3 separate regions of the Homo sapiens genome follow, and all the other regions are linked to region 1. Evidence: promoter capture Hi-C in 16 types of primary human blood cells and fetal thymus (Javierre and others, 2016). All regions are on one chromosome and are shown on one strand. Each heading gives the region's core, a stretch centred on a gene start or on the middle of the fragment in contact. The rest is flanking DNA. Distances are from core to core; before and after follow the strand shown.

The links. Contacts are between HindIII fragments. The CHiCAGO score rates a contact against its expected background, and 5 or more counts as called.
Region 2: the fragment with the promoter of CDCA5 here is called in contact with a fragment that was not itself captured in region 1 in 9 of 17 cell types (total B cells, naive B cells, naive CD4 T cells and 6 more); the score reaches 9.3 in total B cells.
Region 3: a contact is called between the fragment with the promoter of FAU here and a fragment that was not itself captured in region 1, in 2 of 17 cell types (naive CD8 T cells and non-activated CD4 T cells). The highest score is 6.0, in naive CD8 T cells.

Annotation. Positions count from the first base shown.
Region 1 is chr11:66,342,171-66,346,738 of GRCh38, forward strand. It overlaps BRMS1 (BRMS1 transcriptional repressor and anoikis regulator), which reads right to left and starts at 2,934. Exons shown (of 10, transcript NM_015399.4): 1 at 2,802-2,934; 2 at 1-71. The coding sequence starts at 64. It overlaps B4GAT1 (beta-1,4-glucuronyltransferase 1), which reads right to left. Exons shown (of 2, transcript NM_006876.3): 1 at 4,320-4,568; 2 at 3,204-4,070. The coding sequence ends at 3,879. RefSeq lists enhancers at 2,674-3,224, 2,680-3,109. The HindIII fragment of the contact is 221 bases long and covers 1,905-2,125 here.
Region 2 is chr11:65,081,711-65,086,278 of GRCh38, forward strand. CDCA5 (cell division cycle associated 5) reads right to left here and starts at 2,330. Exons shown (of 6, transcript NM_080668.4): 1 at 2,223-2,330; 2 at 1,919-2,013; 3 at 1,775-1,840; 4 at 1,654-1,689. The coding sequence starts at 2,268. ZFPL1 (zinc finger protein like 1) reads left to right here and starts at 2,512. Exons shown (of 8, transcript NM_006782.4): 1 at 2,512-2,668; 2 at 2,981-3,090; 3 at 3,405-3,516. The coding sequence starts at 2,989. RefSeq lists enhancers at 2,062-2,291, 2,372-2,641, 3,231-3,815. The HindIII fragment of the contact is 9,431 bases long and covers 1-3,789 here.
Region 3 is chr11:65,119,353-65,123,920 of GRCh38, forward strand. It overlaps FAU (FAU ubiquitin like and ribosomal protein S30 fusion), which reads right to left and starts at 2,782. Exons shown (of 5, transcript NM_001997.5): 1 at 2,738-2,782; 2 at 2,387-2,469; 3 at 2,148-2,292; 4 at 1,629-1,684; 5 at 1,278-1,454. The coding sequence starts at 2,461. The coding sequence ends at 1,329. MRPL49 (mitochondrial ribosomal protein L49) reads left to right here and starts at 2,969. Exons shown (of 4, transcript NM_004927.4): 1 at 2,969-3,072. The coding sequence starts at 2,995. RefSeq lists enhancers at 2,740-2,829, 2,990-3,259. The HindIII fragment of the contact is 5,955 bases long and covers 1-4,568 here.

The DNA.
Region 1 (4,568 bases), core at 765-3,264:
CAGCAGCAGAATCACCCTCTGCTTCCATCTCTTCTGTGTCTTTGCTTGGAGGCTGGACAGGCATCTGGACTCTGGGAGAAGGAATGGAGCTATCACTTATGGCTGCCCACAGCTCAGAGGGGGAAAGAGGCAGCAGGATGCTGAACACAACTCGATCCCAGATGGGGAAAGCCAGGGAAGTAACTGGCCTGGCCACACCTTGAGCACAAACTGGGTGACAAGGGTGCAAATGGCCATCTGCACCTCTCACAGAAGGCTGGGAGCTGTGGAACTGCTCCTGCTCTTGGATGTCACTGGTGATCCTAATCCTAGCAATACTGGCCAAGGCTGTGATCCACAGAAAGGAAAGGCCCAGGGGGCACTCTCCACTGCCTTTGCAACTGGACCTAAATTTCTTTTCTTCTTATTATTTTTTGAGACAGAGTCTCGCTCTGTTGACAAGCTGGAGTGCAGTGGCACGATCTCAGCTCACTGCAACCTCCTCCTCCTGGGTTCAAGCGATTCTCCTGCCTCAGCCTCCTGAGTAGTGAGATTACAGGCGCCCGCACCACACCCAAACTGGACCTAAATTTCTAACTGGGGCTTTCAAGGTCTTTCCCAGACTGGACTTGACCTACCGGTCCAGCTCCTTCATCCCAACATATAATGGCTAGTGCTTGCACTTCCACTATCCACCCTCTGCCTCAGCTGTTCCTTCTGCCTATAATGTCCTCGGCTTCTCTTCCAGATAATGTTACAATCTCCTTGTCTTTCATTGTGCTCTGGGTCAAATCCCATCTCCTTCTGCTTCCTCTTGGACCGCAGGTCATCAGTGCTCCCCTCTCTTTTCTGTGTCTTCAGCTTCTAACTCTTAGCAACCTCCTTCCCATGAAACTTTGGATGTGCTTGGGTACTTCCTAGCATTAACAAAACACAGAAACACAAAACCTCACCCATTCCACCTAACTGCTCCATTTGCCACTTCACAGTTACACTTTTCAAGGTCTCATGAACACTGGCTGTTCCTACTTTCACCTCCCACTTGTTCGATGTCCTCAATCTCAGCTGAAACTGATCCCGTAGCATTAACCAATGACTTCCTTGTGGCTAATGCCAATATTTTTCAGTGCTTATTTTAATTGTCTGCTCGGCAACATCCAACACTGGTAAGCATTCCTTCTTTTACTGACTCATCTAACATGTATTGAACATCTAACATATGCTAGGTACCGTCAGACGCTATGGTATGCAGGCGCCCAAGTGTGAATGTCTTTGACCTCACGGAGTTTACAAGTTCCTGGGAGACAGGGGCAAAGGAGCACACTATAACCATGATAGGAGGAGAGTTAAGACCAGGGGCATAAGGGAGGGGTATATAACCAGGACCTGGAGCCCGATGCAGCAGGGAGGCTTCCAGACAAAGATGGACCAGCTGGGTGAGCTGCACTTATTGAGGGAACATTCCAGGTAGAGTCAGTAGCAAAGACCCAGAAATAAGAGAAGGAAAGCAGCTGGGGGAACATGGGTCTAAGTCTCAGTGAGAAATCTGAGCTGCAGGGATTTGGTCGTCAGCATACAGCAAGTTCTTCATGCCACAGGAGAAGGTGCAACCAGCAAGGCACAATGTGTGCGATCAGAAGACGCCCAGGGTCACCAAAGGGGCAGATGAGGAGACCCCTACAAAGGAGGAGGCAAAACCCGAAGTGGTGGAGAAAGAGTTTTAGAAGAAAGCCAAGTACTGCCAAGGAGTAATTGCACTGATAGTGCCAAGTACTGCCAAGAGATCACCTAAGAAGAAGAAAACAGTCCTCTCAGCAGATAATCTCTCAACCTCCTGCAGGCTTCTATTTTATTGTGTTCTTCCAACTTCTCTGGACACTGCTTTGTAGTCCTTTAGAACAGTGCAGACACCACTCCCTCCAGGAAGCTTTGTTTATATCTATTTGCCTGTTCTCATATCTGTCCCCGCAATCAGTCTATGAGCCTCACTAGGGCAGGGGCTGCACATGTAACTTATTTACCTAGCACAGTGCTGGTTCACTTGATGACTGGAGGATTTGCAAATACAAATTTAACAAAAAAATTTTTTGTGAGACAGACATTAGTTTTTACTTTTCGGTAGTCCCAGGTCCCTGTAATGGTAGCAAGCTTTCCTTGACACCAGTTCAAGTTGTGTATAGTAAGCCTGGCCTAGGTGAGTGTTTAGTCATATTCCTCAACAATTTCACTAATGACCTGCACCTGACTTGAAAGGCTCGGTTCTCTAAACCAGCTTCATCTTCCCGTTATCAAGCCTCAGTTCCCAACATTTGCAATGCCTCTTCACTGTTAGTATATTCACTTTGTAAGATGCAGCTTAAGTCTATCTCTTCCAGAAGCCTTTCTTTCCTCCCCCTGGTTCTGATTATGAGTGAGTTAAGTCACAACCTTCCCACCTTACCCCGGGTGCAAAAAGCGGATAACCATTCCTGCTCTGAGTGTTGAGGAGCTCACAGGTGGTAAGGGATGGAAAAGCACACTGTAAAGCGCTGTACACAGGCAATTTATCTTTTCAGAATGGCAGCTCCTCCGGGGCAGGCCCCTAGGGAAGGCAGACCCTCCCCACTCTCGCAGAGGTCAATCCAGCTTCTCCGCAGCGCCCAGGGGGCCTCCCGCTCCCTTCTAGATGCGCCGGAGCGGGCCGGAATATCACTGGCTCGCCCGCAGCCCAGCACGCGTCAGGCCGGTTAAATCTCTGCTTCGGCCTCGGAGGAGGAGGTTGTGCCGGCCCTGCTCGACTAACCGGAGAGGGCGAACCAAAAGCCATGCATGACGATACGCACCGCGGGGACTGGAGCCTCTGGCCTCACGACGGAGATTCCCTGAGAGCTGCCCGTGGTTGCCGGTACCGGCTGCTGCCGCCGGACTCCCGTAGGCGCTGCGCGGCTCCCTTTTCTTCGGGAGGCAGAGCCTATCGGTGCTTCCGTGTGCGTCATCAGGAGGCGACCGTCGGGGATGCTCACAGTTGGACAGTTTGGTCCCGAGGCATGCTGGGATACCGCGGGCCGGTCTCCATAGTAACTGGCCGACATTCGCGCAGGCCTTCGGCCTGCAGGGAAGGCCCTGATGGTTCAGTGCTTTGCAGACGGTGCCCTTCGTCCGCGGCCATCTCCCCACGGCGTGCAAGGGGAGAAGCCGGCCCCGATCCCCCCACCCCCAGCTCAGGAGAGTAACGGAGCCAGCTGTGGGTGTGAACACGCATTTATTTACACATTGTCATCGGTAGGCACATACCCAGCCCAGCCCGTTGAAGGGACAGATCTCAGGCTGTCACCCATGGAACCTGCAGACCCTTCCCTCCTCCAGAACCCTTGAAGGCGAAGCCCTGAGAGAACCAGGAATTTTAGGCTTCTGTTCAAGAGCTAAGAACTAAATTTTATGCCTTCATCTGATTTCTTTCCAAAAAGTCCATTTCATTAAGTATTCAGACTTCTTAGCTCCATCCCATTCATACTTTTTGCTCTCCTACTACCCACCCAAGATTGTTAATAATAACAATAATAATAACAACAATAATACTGCGATAATATTAATACTTCACATTTGTACGAAGCTTACAGAATGTTTTCACATATAGCATCTCATCTGAGCCTCCCAACAGTTCCGTGAGGTAGGTATTCTCACCTCCCTTTTTACAGACAGGGTAACCGAGGCTCAGAGAGGTAACGGGATTTACTCAAGGCCACACAGCTAGTTAGTGGTAAAGCTAGGAATCGATCCCAGCACCCCATATCCAAGTCCAGTGTTTCAACACCACAGCTACCTCTGTAAAGTGGAGCGACATTTCTTACCCCAGTCAGGCCTAAATGGTGGCCTGAGGAGCCAAGAGGCTGACTTCTCAGATTAGGGGAGGGAAGGGCTCAGCAGCGTCGGGGAGAGTTGGGGTACTTGGCCTTCAACTCCTGTTTGAACTGGCGATATAGGATCTTATTGTGCTGATTTTCAGCCTCCTTTTGGGGATGGAACTTCAACGCTTCTTTGAAGCCCTTATGAACCAAGAAACCTTCGTTCAGGACCTCAAAATCAAACCCCGCCACATGCAGCTCGCAGGCCTGCAGGAGGAAAGACAGGTTAGCAAAGTTTGATGACATTGACAGGCCTGAGACTGACTTCCCTAAAGCCACAGTCCAGCGTCCTCACCCCTCTGGAAGTATCCTGGATCTTCCACACCATCCACCCACCTCCTGAACTATGATCCCTCCTGCTTCATTGCCTCCTTTCCATCCAGGGCCACTCCTCATAACTCCCTGATCCCACCACCCCTCCTGCCCCATTACCCCTGCCCTCTCCCTTATGAGCACCTGGCTGATTCGGTTGAAGCCGTACTGCCGAAAGCGCTCGTCGAAGGTGGGCACCTTGCCTCCTGCCACGTAGAATGGCTCCCAGGGGTCCTGCCAAGGTACCACGTAGGCGGGCCGCAGCAAGCTCTCTTCCGGCAGGTTGACCCAGCGGGAATAGTTGGTGGGTGCCTGGCAGGGGGTGCACAACCCATAATAGAAGGGCCGCACCTCGCCAACCTGGTAGAGCTGCACCAGCTCGTTTTTGTTCAT
Region 2 (4,568 bases), core at 1,080-3,579, 1.3 Mb before region 1:
ATCCCAACACTTTAGGAGGCCAAGGTGGGAGGATCACTTGAGCCCAGGAGTTCAAGACCGGCCTGGGCAACATAGTGAACCCTCATCTCTATAAAAAAAATTAGAGAAAACATCAAAAAATTAGCCAGGCATGGTGGCATGTGACTATAGTCCCAGCTACTTGAGAGGCTGAGGAGGGAAGATCTGCAGTGAGCCGAAATCTCGCCACTGCACTCCAGCCTGGGTGGCAGAACAAGACCCTATCTTTAGAACTGGTAAGGCCTAAGAGAATTACATAGAGAAATGTGACAGCAATAGGGTAAGGGTGGTCAGGGAAGGCCACTGGGGGGCAATTCCCTCTGAACCCAGTACTGTATATCATCCTGGCTTTAGCTCACGCCCTTGGCTTCATGCTTCAGAATTCCTGGACTTCACGTCATTCCACTGGTCTTGGAGCCCCAGGGTAGCCCTTCTCAAAACCATTCTCCCCACAGCCCCCAGAGGGGTCTTTCTTAAAACACTCAAACTTGACTCGGTCACTACCTTACCCAGAACTCTCCAAAGGCTGCCCACAGACCCAAGAATGATGCCCAAGCCATGAGTGTGGCTTTTGTGCCTCATCAGGATCTGCTCTGCCTTAGGGTGCTTCCTCCCCTGCTGAGGTCTGCTGCAGACACTAAACAAATTGCTATTCCCCGAACCTTGATTTTTCTTTAAATTCCCAATCTCTGCAAACATGGCTTCTTTGACCTGGAACAAACCTACTTGTCTTTTTTTTTTTTTTTTTTTTTGAGATGGAGTCTCGCTTTGTCACCCAGGCTGGAGTGCAGGGGCGTGATCTCGGCCCACTGCAACCTCCGCCTCCTGGGTTTAAGCGATTCTCCTGCCTCAGCCTCCTGAGTAGCTGGGACTATAGGCACGTGCCACCATGCCTGGCTAATTTTGTATTTTTAGTAGACACAGGGTTTCACCACGTTGGCCAGGCTGGTCTTAAACTCTTGACCACAAGTGATCTGCCCGCCTCAGCCTCCCAAAATGCTAGGATCACAAGCGTGAGCCACTGCACCCGGCCTCTACTTGTCTTTAAAGACTCAGTTCAAATGTTTCTTCTTCCACGAAACATTCCCTGAGCCACATGGTCTGGGTTAGCTACCATCATAGCATCTAGTATTCCTTATTGCAGTCCCAGTACACAACGTTGCTATCACTTGTCATTGGTCTTTCTCCCCAGTTGACTCTAAGCCCTATCAGCTCTTCAAAGGAGTTCACATTTCTCAGTCAGTATGTCTTCAGATTGTCTATTAATGAAACATCCTTTGATAATAACTTCTGCTAAAACTGTAAAAATGTCATACACATGACTTATCTCAGAACACCCATACATGAAAGCTGAAGGCATAATGGATTAGAAAGGCAGTACGTGGAGTTAAGACATAGCTCAGCTTTTAAAGGAAGTTCCAGGAAAATGGTAGAAATACACAAGGCATAAAAAGTTAAGTGTATTAAGTCTTCAGGGAGTAATCAAGACTGGCAATGCATGCAGGTGCCCACAGGCAAACTGTTTTTGCAGTACTGCAAAACAGCTCCCTGGGCAGATGTGAGGAGCCAATGTGTGCTGTCCAGCTCTAGAGTGACCCAGATTCTACTTAATTAAGTAGATGAAAGTGAACTCACCCTAGGGCTCCTGCGAGGTGATTGGACAGCTGGGACCTGCGGGGGACAATACCAATTGATCACATAGCTGGTCCCCAGTTTTGCCCGCCTAACCACCCACAACACTCTCCTTAGCCTTTACCTCTACAGCATGGGCCACGATCCTCTTTAAGACGATGGGCTTTCTGACTGCAGCCGCACTGGGTGTCTGGAGAAGAGGGATGAACGTGAGCTCAACATTAGGTGAGGGGCCACAAGGGGAGGAAGTGAGAAATCTGGGGCTCACCTTCGGCCAGATTTCAGGGAGGATGCTCGGGAGTTCAGAGCCTGATTTCCGCTGGGACCTCCGCAGAGGCTTAGTAGGAGATGGGGCCCTTGGCCCTGGAAAGAGAAAAAAGTTAAGTGGTAGAGGAGGACTCTAGACCTTAGAGTCCAGAGAACAGGTTCTAGAGACAGCGAGAAGATTCCCAAACAAGCCCTTTTAAGGGCGCCTCCTCCGGCGGCGGCAGCGGGAGGGAAGAGGCCATCTTTCACCGGACTGCGTCCCCCAAACGGCTCGACCTCACGTCTCCCGCGCGCCCTCCGCTCACCGGAGCGCTGAGCGGCTCCTCCGGACCGCGTTCGCCTCCCAGACATAACTTAGGCTCCGTCTCGAGCTCCTCCAGCGCCGCCGCCCCGGGCGCGCGCCAACCGGGAAGGCCACTCGCTGCAAAAAACGTTCGAATTACCCGCCCTGCGGGAAAGGAAGCGGAAGTGACGTAGGGCTAGCGGTCTGCGGCCCTCGGAACCCCGAGTCTTTTCCACCCGTCTTCACCTCTAGCGGCAGCGGAGGCGTGGCCCAGGGGCGCGATGGCGTCATCAGCGCGCGCCGCACCCGGAAGAGACGTGGCAGCGGAGGGATAATCGGGGCGGCCGGGGCTGAAGGGAGAGGCGCAGGAGCCCTGGGGAGAGTGGTCCCTGCCCTTCCGCGCCTCGAGCCATCGCTACCGCCCTTCGGAACCAGTGCAGCGGCCGATCAGTAAACACAGAGACTGGGGTCTGTAGAGAAGGGGCGGGACTTGGAGGGGGTGGGGCTCAGGAGAGGTCTTGGGGGCGGGGCCGGTAGTATCGGGGAGCCTCTGATGGAGGGGCCTGGCCGGGGGCGGGATCCAGAAGGATTGAGGGGTCGCCGGAGGCGGGATTTATGCAGGGGGTGTTTCTCCGCATAAGGAGGGACAGTGGGCAGGAATCTGAGATCGGGGCGAATATGAGAGGTGTCTGGGGGAGTTAAGAGTGGAAACTGGGCTGGTGAGAGCGTAGTGGTGGCCACCAGAACCTGACTTCCTACCAACTCATGCCCCTTTCCCAGGATCGATCATGGGGCTTTGTAAGTGCCCCAAGAGAAAGGTGACCAACCTGTTCTGCTTCGAACATCGGGTCAACGTCTGCGAGCACTGCCTGGTAGCCAATCACGCCAAGGTGGGGCCTTCAGGGGAGCGACTGAGCAGGGCACTGGGTGGGCAAGGCGGTATTGGCTTCCTCCAAATCCATGAGGGGCCCCGCGCTAGAATGTAAGCCCCACAAGGGCAAGGACTTGATTTATTTTGTTCACTGATATATCCCCCGTTCCCAAGAGAGAGTCTGGTGCACAGTATGTGCTCAATAAATATTTATTGATTAAACAAACGAAAGGATGAGTCTCCTCTGTGGCTAGAGAAAAAGAGACAGTCGGACCTTGGGGTGATAGGCCGAGCAGCCCCAGCACCAGTTGTGACATCTCTCTCCCACTCCAGTGCATCGTCCAGTCCTACCTGCAATGGCTCCAAGATAGCGACTACAACCCCAATTGCCGCCTGTGCAACATACCCCTGGCCAGCCGAGAGACGACCCGCCTTGTCTGCTATGGTGAGGCCTTGGCACCTCGGGGGGATCAGGCCAGCCTCAGGGGCCAGCTTGGTGACTGGTTTCCAGGCCCTCCTCAAGCAGCAGGACAGTGAGTCCCCCGAGTCTCAGAGCCCAGATTCTAGTCCTGTTAAAGTTCCTTACCTGCTGTGTAAGTTCAGGCAAGTTATTCTTCCTTTCTAGGCCTCACTGTCTTTCCTAAAAATTAAAGCTCCTAGTTCCTCTTTCCTAAAAATTAAGCCCTGCCAATCTGGAGGTTTCAGCGAGAACCAGTCAAGCTTACGGGTATGCTGGTGGCCGTGACTATTAGCTAGCCAGACCGGCATGTTGCTTTCAGATATTCAGGATCCACCACTGATTCCAAGGCTAAACAGAGAGGAAGTGAGTTTCCCACATTAAAGTTAGCTAAAAGAAGTCAGCAGACATATGTGTCATGACTTTGACCTGAATCTGGGGTAAGAGCCTTAGCTCCAGTTTTTGAAGGAGCTCATGCAAGAGTCAGCTCCATATGTGTTTCTCCTTGTGAGTGCATGTGTGTACTTGCAGGCACTTAATGTACATTGTGTGTTTAAATGAGTGTTAGTGTGTTGATCTGTACTTGGGGTGAATGAATGGGTAAATGTATGTATGTGAACATATGAACACAGGTGTGTTGTGGGAGTGCAAGAGAATGCATGGTTGAGGGTGCCTGTTAGCAAACCTGTGAGTGTATAGATGTGTATGTGTGAGGGCTCCTGTACCCATAGTGTAGATATAGGGAATGCCACTTGTGTTTGATTATGTGCTTATAAGGACATGTACATTTGTGCCCAGGGATGTGTACATGTATATGTGTGCCTGTGTGTGTATCGAGGAACCTTTTCTGAAACTGTTCATTATTAGCCATTAGCCCAAAGAATATGATGAGTGCAGGCCCAGAGAGGACTCATTGAAAGGACTGAAAGGGGAGGTGGCGTTTTCTTCCTACCCAAACTTACCCCTGTGAGCTGGACAGCTTGGTAGCACCTGCCTGGACTTAGATGGTGGTAGCCAAGAAGACTGACATTTTAGGGAAC
Region 3 (4,568 bases), core at 1,532-4,031, 1.2 Mb before region 1:
GGCCGGGCACTGTGGCTCATGGCTGTAATCCCAGTACTTTGGGAGGCCGAGGTGGGCGATCACGAGGTCAAGAGATCGAGACCATCCTGGCCAACATGGGGAAACCCCATGTCTACTAAAAATACAAAAATTAGCTGGGCGTGGTGGCACATGCCTGTAGTCCCAGCTACTCAGGGGGCTGAGGCAGGAGAATGGCGTGAACCCGGGAGGCTGAGGTTGCAGTGAGCTCGGATTGTGCCACTGCACTCCAGCCTGGCGACAGTGCGAGACTCTGTCTCAATAAAATAAAATAAAGAAAAAAGAAAAACAAAAAAAGAGGCCCTCTCTGGGATGCTATTGTATCTGTCCACATCCTCCCCCTTTCTAAACTGCTGGAAGGCAGAAACCATGTCTTTAACACCACAGAGACAAAAATAGCCAAGATTCACACACTCACTGTAAGCCAGATGTTGATTTACATCCTTTAACCCTCACAGCAGCCCTGGAGATGGCAGAGATTAAATTAGTAGTTAGTTCAAAGGCCAGCCACCCAGTAAATGGAGTAGGAAGAAAAAGAAGGTCCAAACTCAGGCAGTCAAAGTCCACAGCCCAAGGGCTTTACCCTGTTGGATGCTATTTCTCAAGAACTGGCAGGTCCAGAAACTTTAGCTGAATGAGTAAGTGGGGTTCAGAAGTGCTGGGAGGCTCAGTTGCCAGAAGAGAACCCTGAATCAGCCCCAGAGGTAACCCAACTTTTGGGAACACTGAAACCTCACTATATCCAATCACAGATGTGATTAGGTTACCAAGTCCGGCCAGGCAGTCACAGAGGTACAAACGAGGCCATGCTCCCAACATAATATTTACTTCTAAAACCAAGGCAGACCAGATTCCTGCCCTGGACTCTAAGGCCACAGCTGGTACCAAGTTCAGGGAACGGCCAGGTTCACCTTCTATACAAACCTCTTCCCCCACCCATCCCTTCTATTGCTGCCTCCATAACAAACCTCTCACCACAGTGATTCCTGCTACCTTCTCTGTTTAGAAGATGAAAAAGAATGACCTGGGGGGACTGATCAAGTTACTTAGGATAGGGAATAACCCCAATTTTACATCTGAAGCCCCCCAGGATCTGTAGCTGTTTCTTCACAGGAAATTTCTCTTGTAGTTTACCATTTCTTCCCCCCATACCAAAGGCTTCTGCCTTTTCTGCCTCACTGTTCTCCTAGGGGACATACCACCAACCCGAGAAGCACACCTCTCCCTGAGGCCTTGCAAGTAAAGATGAAACAATGCGATGACTGAACTAAGTGGCTTTTTTATTAGAGAAAGCCAGAATTACAAAAGACTTAAGAGTTGGCATTGGGGCCCTTCTTCTTGCCAAAGGTGGGCACAACGTTGACAAAGCGCCGGTTGTACTGCATCCGCCGCTTAGCCCGACCTGTCTTCTTCTTCTTCTTCTCCTGTTTGGCCACCTGGAGAAGGGAAGGTTAATCAGGCCCTGGTTCCTGTCTTCCACACCTAGCATCCCTTCCCTCAGGCTCATCTCCAGGGAGGGAGAAGGCAAACCGAGTAAGAGCCCAGGGACTTGGTTTAGCTGTGAAAGGAAAAAAAGTCCTAACACCATGACCACTAATACTCTCACTCACCTTAGGAGTCTGACCTCTCACTTTTCCAGCACGGGCCAGGGAACCATGGACTTTACCTGTAGTGGGAAAGGAAGGCACCAGCAGGTAAGAGCAAGAAGGTGCCACCCAGCAGAACCCCTCTTTTCTCAATTCAAGCCTTTAAAGAGAAGCTGCGCCCAATAGGTAATGAGAACAAAGTTGCAGATATTTGACCTTGAAATCTTAAGTTTCATTTCAGGATCTTCCAGCTTCTAATTTTATAGAGCACTTTGGGGGCCCTGGTCTGACCTAATTTTAGTGTGGAAGCTGATAACCAGACTAGGATCTCGTGATGTGACTGAAATACAACTACACTCTGGCTCAGTCTCCCATGGACGTCTGTGTTCAACATGAGGGATGTAAACAGGAAGAATCACTCTGAACTGAAGACAGTGAGAAGTACTCTATTACCATAGGTGTGACACTCAGCTGTCAGGACTATGCACCCCACACTCACTAGACGCTTACCGGTACTTCAAAGAACATTCCTCTCTCACTCACCTCCAAGCATGCGGCCTGCTACTTCCAGGGTAGTCAGGGCCTCCACCCCGCACTGGCCCAGAGTGGCCTCATCCTCCAGGGGCGCGCCTGCCAGGAGCACGACTTGATCTTCCGGGGCAATGCCCTCCAGTGAGGCTACATGAGCCTACAGGGAAAGATAAGGCTCGTAAGCGTTCCCTCGGGCCGCGAGAGTGAAGAGCACAAGAAAATGGAACCCAGGGCGCACCAAGCAGCCTTACCTTGATCTGGGCGACCGTTTCCTGGCCGGTCACCTCGAAGGTGTGTAGCTCCTGGGCGCGGACAAAGAGCTGCATATTGGCGACTGAGTAAAGAAAAGACGGCTTGTAAGAGAAGCCAAGAAATGCTCTGGGATAAAGGAGATTTGGGAGTGGAAAGCGGTCCAGAAACGATCGCGACGGGATGGTGGTCGCGGCGGCTCACGTGGGGAAGGCCAGGCCTCCCAAGGAGTTCGGATAGGGACTGGAGCAGGGCCACGGAGCAGGCCCCGTTCTTCGGTTCCCCCCGCGCCTTCTGACCCCGCAGCCAACCTGCTACAAGCCCTTCGGATCCAGCCAAGGCCCCATTCTTACCTGAACGGCGGTCCCAGCTACCGCGAAGATGGAGTCGAGAAAGAGGAAGAAGCGAGGGCGCGTCAGTACAGACCGTGGGCTGCGTGTCACGTCACTGCTGAGCGACCGCGCGGTTCCCTGCTATTTGTACCGCCCAAGGCAGTCCTAGCTCCGCCCCTTTACGCTCGCACCGGCGAACCTGCCTGGGCAGGCAGCTCGCGCAGGACGGGGCGGGACCAGACAGTTGCGCGCACAGAAGGCTGGCGTAGCAGGTAAAGATGGCAGCTACCATGTTCCGGGCTACGCTGCGGGGATGGAGAACCGGTGTCCAGCGGGGCTGCGGGCTACGGCTGTTGGTGAGAGCGCTGAGCGAGGAGCTGAGGGCATCGCGTGGGTGTGAGGCTCAGTGTTAATCATTGTTAACCCCGAAAACTAAGGCATTCCTACTTGGGGCCTTAGTTTTGCCGTTTTCGATCAGGAGAACTTGTCCCGAGTGTACATATAGAATCGAGAGGGAAAATGGTAGACTGGGGTGCTCTTTGGGAGCACTTAACACAGTGCCTGGCAGTGTCTATATAAGCCACAACGTTTCAGGTAAGGGGCGGGGTCCTAGCATATGAGTGTGCGTGGGGAATTATGATTGCCTTAATTCTTTTTTTTTTTTTTTTTGAGACGGAGTCTCGCTCTGTCGCCCAGGCTGGAGGGCAGTGGCGCGATCTCGGCCCACTGCAAGCTCCGCCTCCCAGATTCACGCCATCCTCCTGCCTCAGCCTCCCGAGTAGCTGGGACTACAGGCTCCCGCCACCATGCCCGGCTAATTTTTTGTATTTTTAGTAGAGACGGGGTTTCACCTTGTTAGCCAGGATGGACTGGATCTTCTGACCTCGTGATCCGCCCGCCTCGGCCTCCCAAAGTGCTGGGATTACAGGCATGAGCCGCCGAACCCGTCTGATTGCCTTAATTCTTAAGGCAATCATAAGATTAAACATCACTATATCCCGTCACAGATGTGATTAGGTTAGCAAGGCCAGCCAGGCAATCATGGAGGTACAAACAAGGCCACGCTGCCAATATAATAATATCTATTTCTAAAACCGAGACAGAAAGTTAAGCCTTAAGTTTCTAAAGGCTTGATTGACTTTTCAGAAGTGTACATATACTCTTTTGCATCCCACAGAAATCCTGAGAGGCAGACCATTCAGAGTACCTGAGCCTCCTTTCCATCCCATCTGTACCCTGCACCATGGAAAACCAAAGACTGGTGCTATCTTATGTCAACCTAAATAACAGACTCTAAAAGAAAAGGATATTTATTCGGGAATGGGTATAGACTATGTGCTTATCAGGGAGGTAAAAGAAGACAAAGGTTTTTAACAGAAAAATGGGCCAGGCACGGTGGCTCACGCCTGTAATCCCAGCACTTTGGGAGGCCAAGGCGCGTAGATCACCTGGAGTCAGGAGTTTGAGACAAGCCTGGCCAACATGGTGAAACCCGTCTCTAGAAAAAATACAAAAATTAGCCGGGTGTGATGGCGTGTGCCTGTAGTCCCAGCTACTTGGGAGGCTGAGGTAGGAGACTTGCTTGAACTTGGGAGGCGGAGGTTGCAGTGAGCCGAGATCACACCACTGCACTCCAGCCTAGGTGACAGAGTGAGACTCTATCTAAAAAAATAATAAAAATAAATAAAGGAAAGGAAAAATGAGTATTACATAATTGTTTTGAGACAGTTATCCTTGGCTACAAGGATGAATAACATGGGTGGTGCCAGTTCAAGATTGGACAGGCAGTTGTTGGACAGATGGCCATGCAGGAATTTGTTTTGTTTTGTTTTGTTTGAGAGAGTCTCGTCGC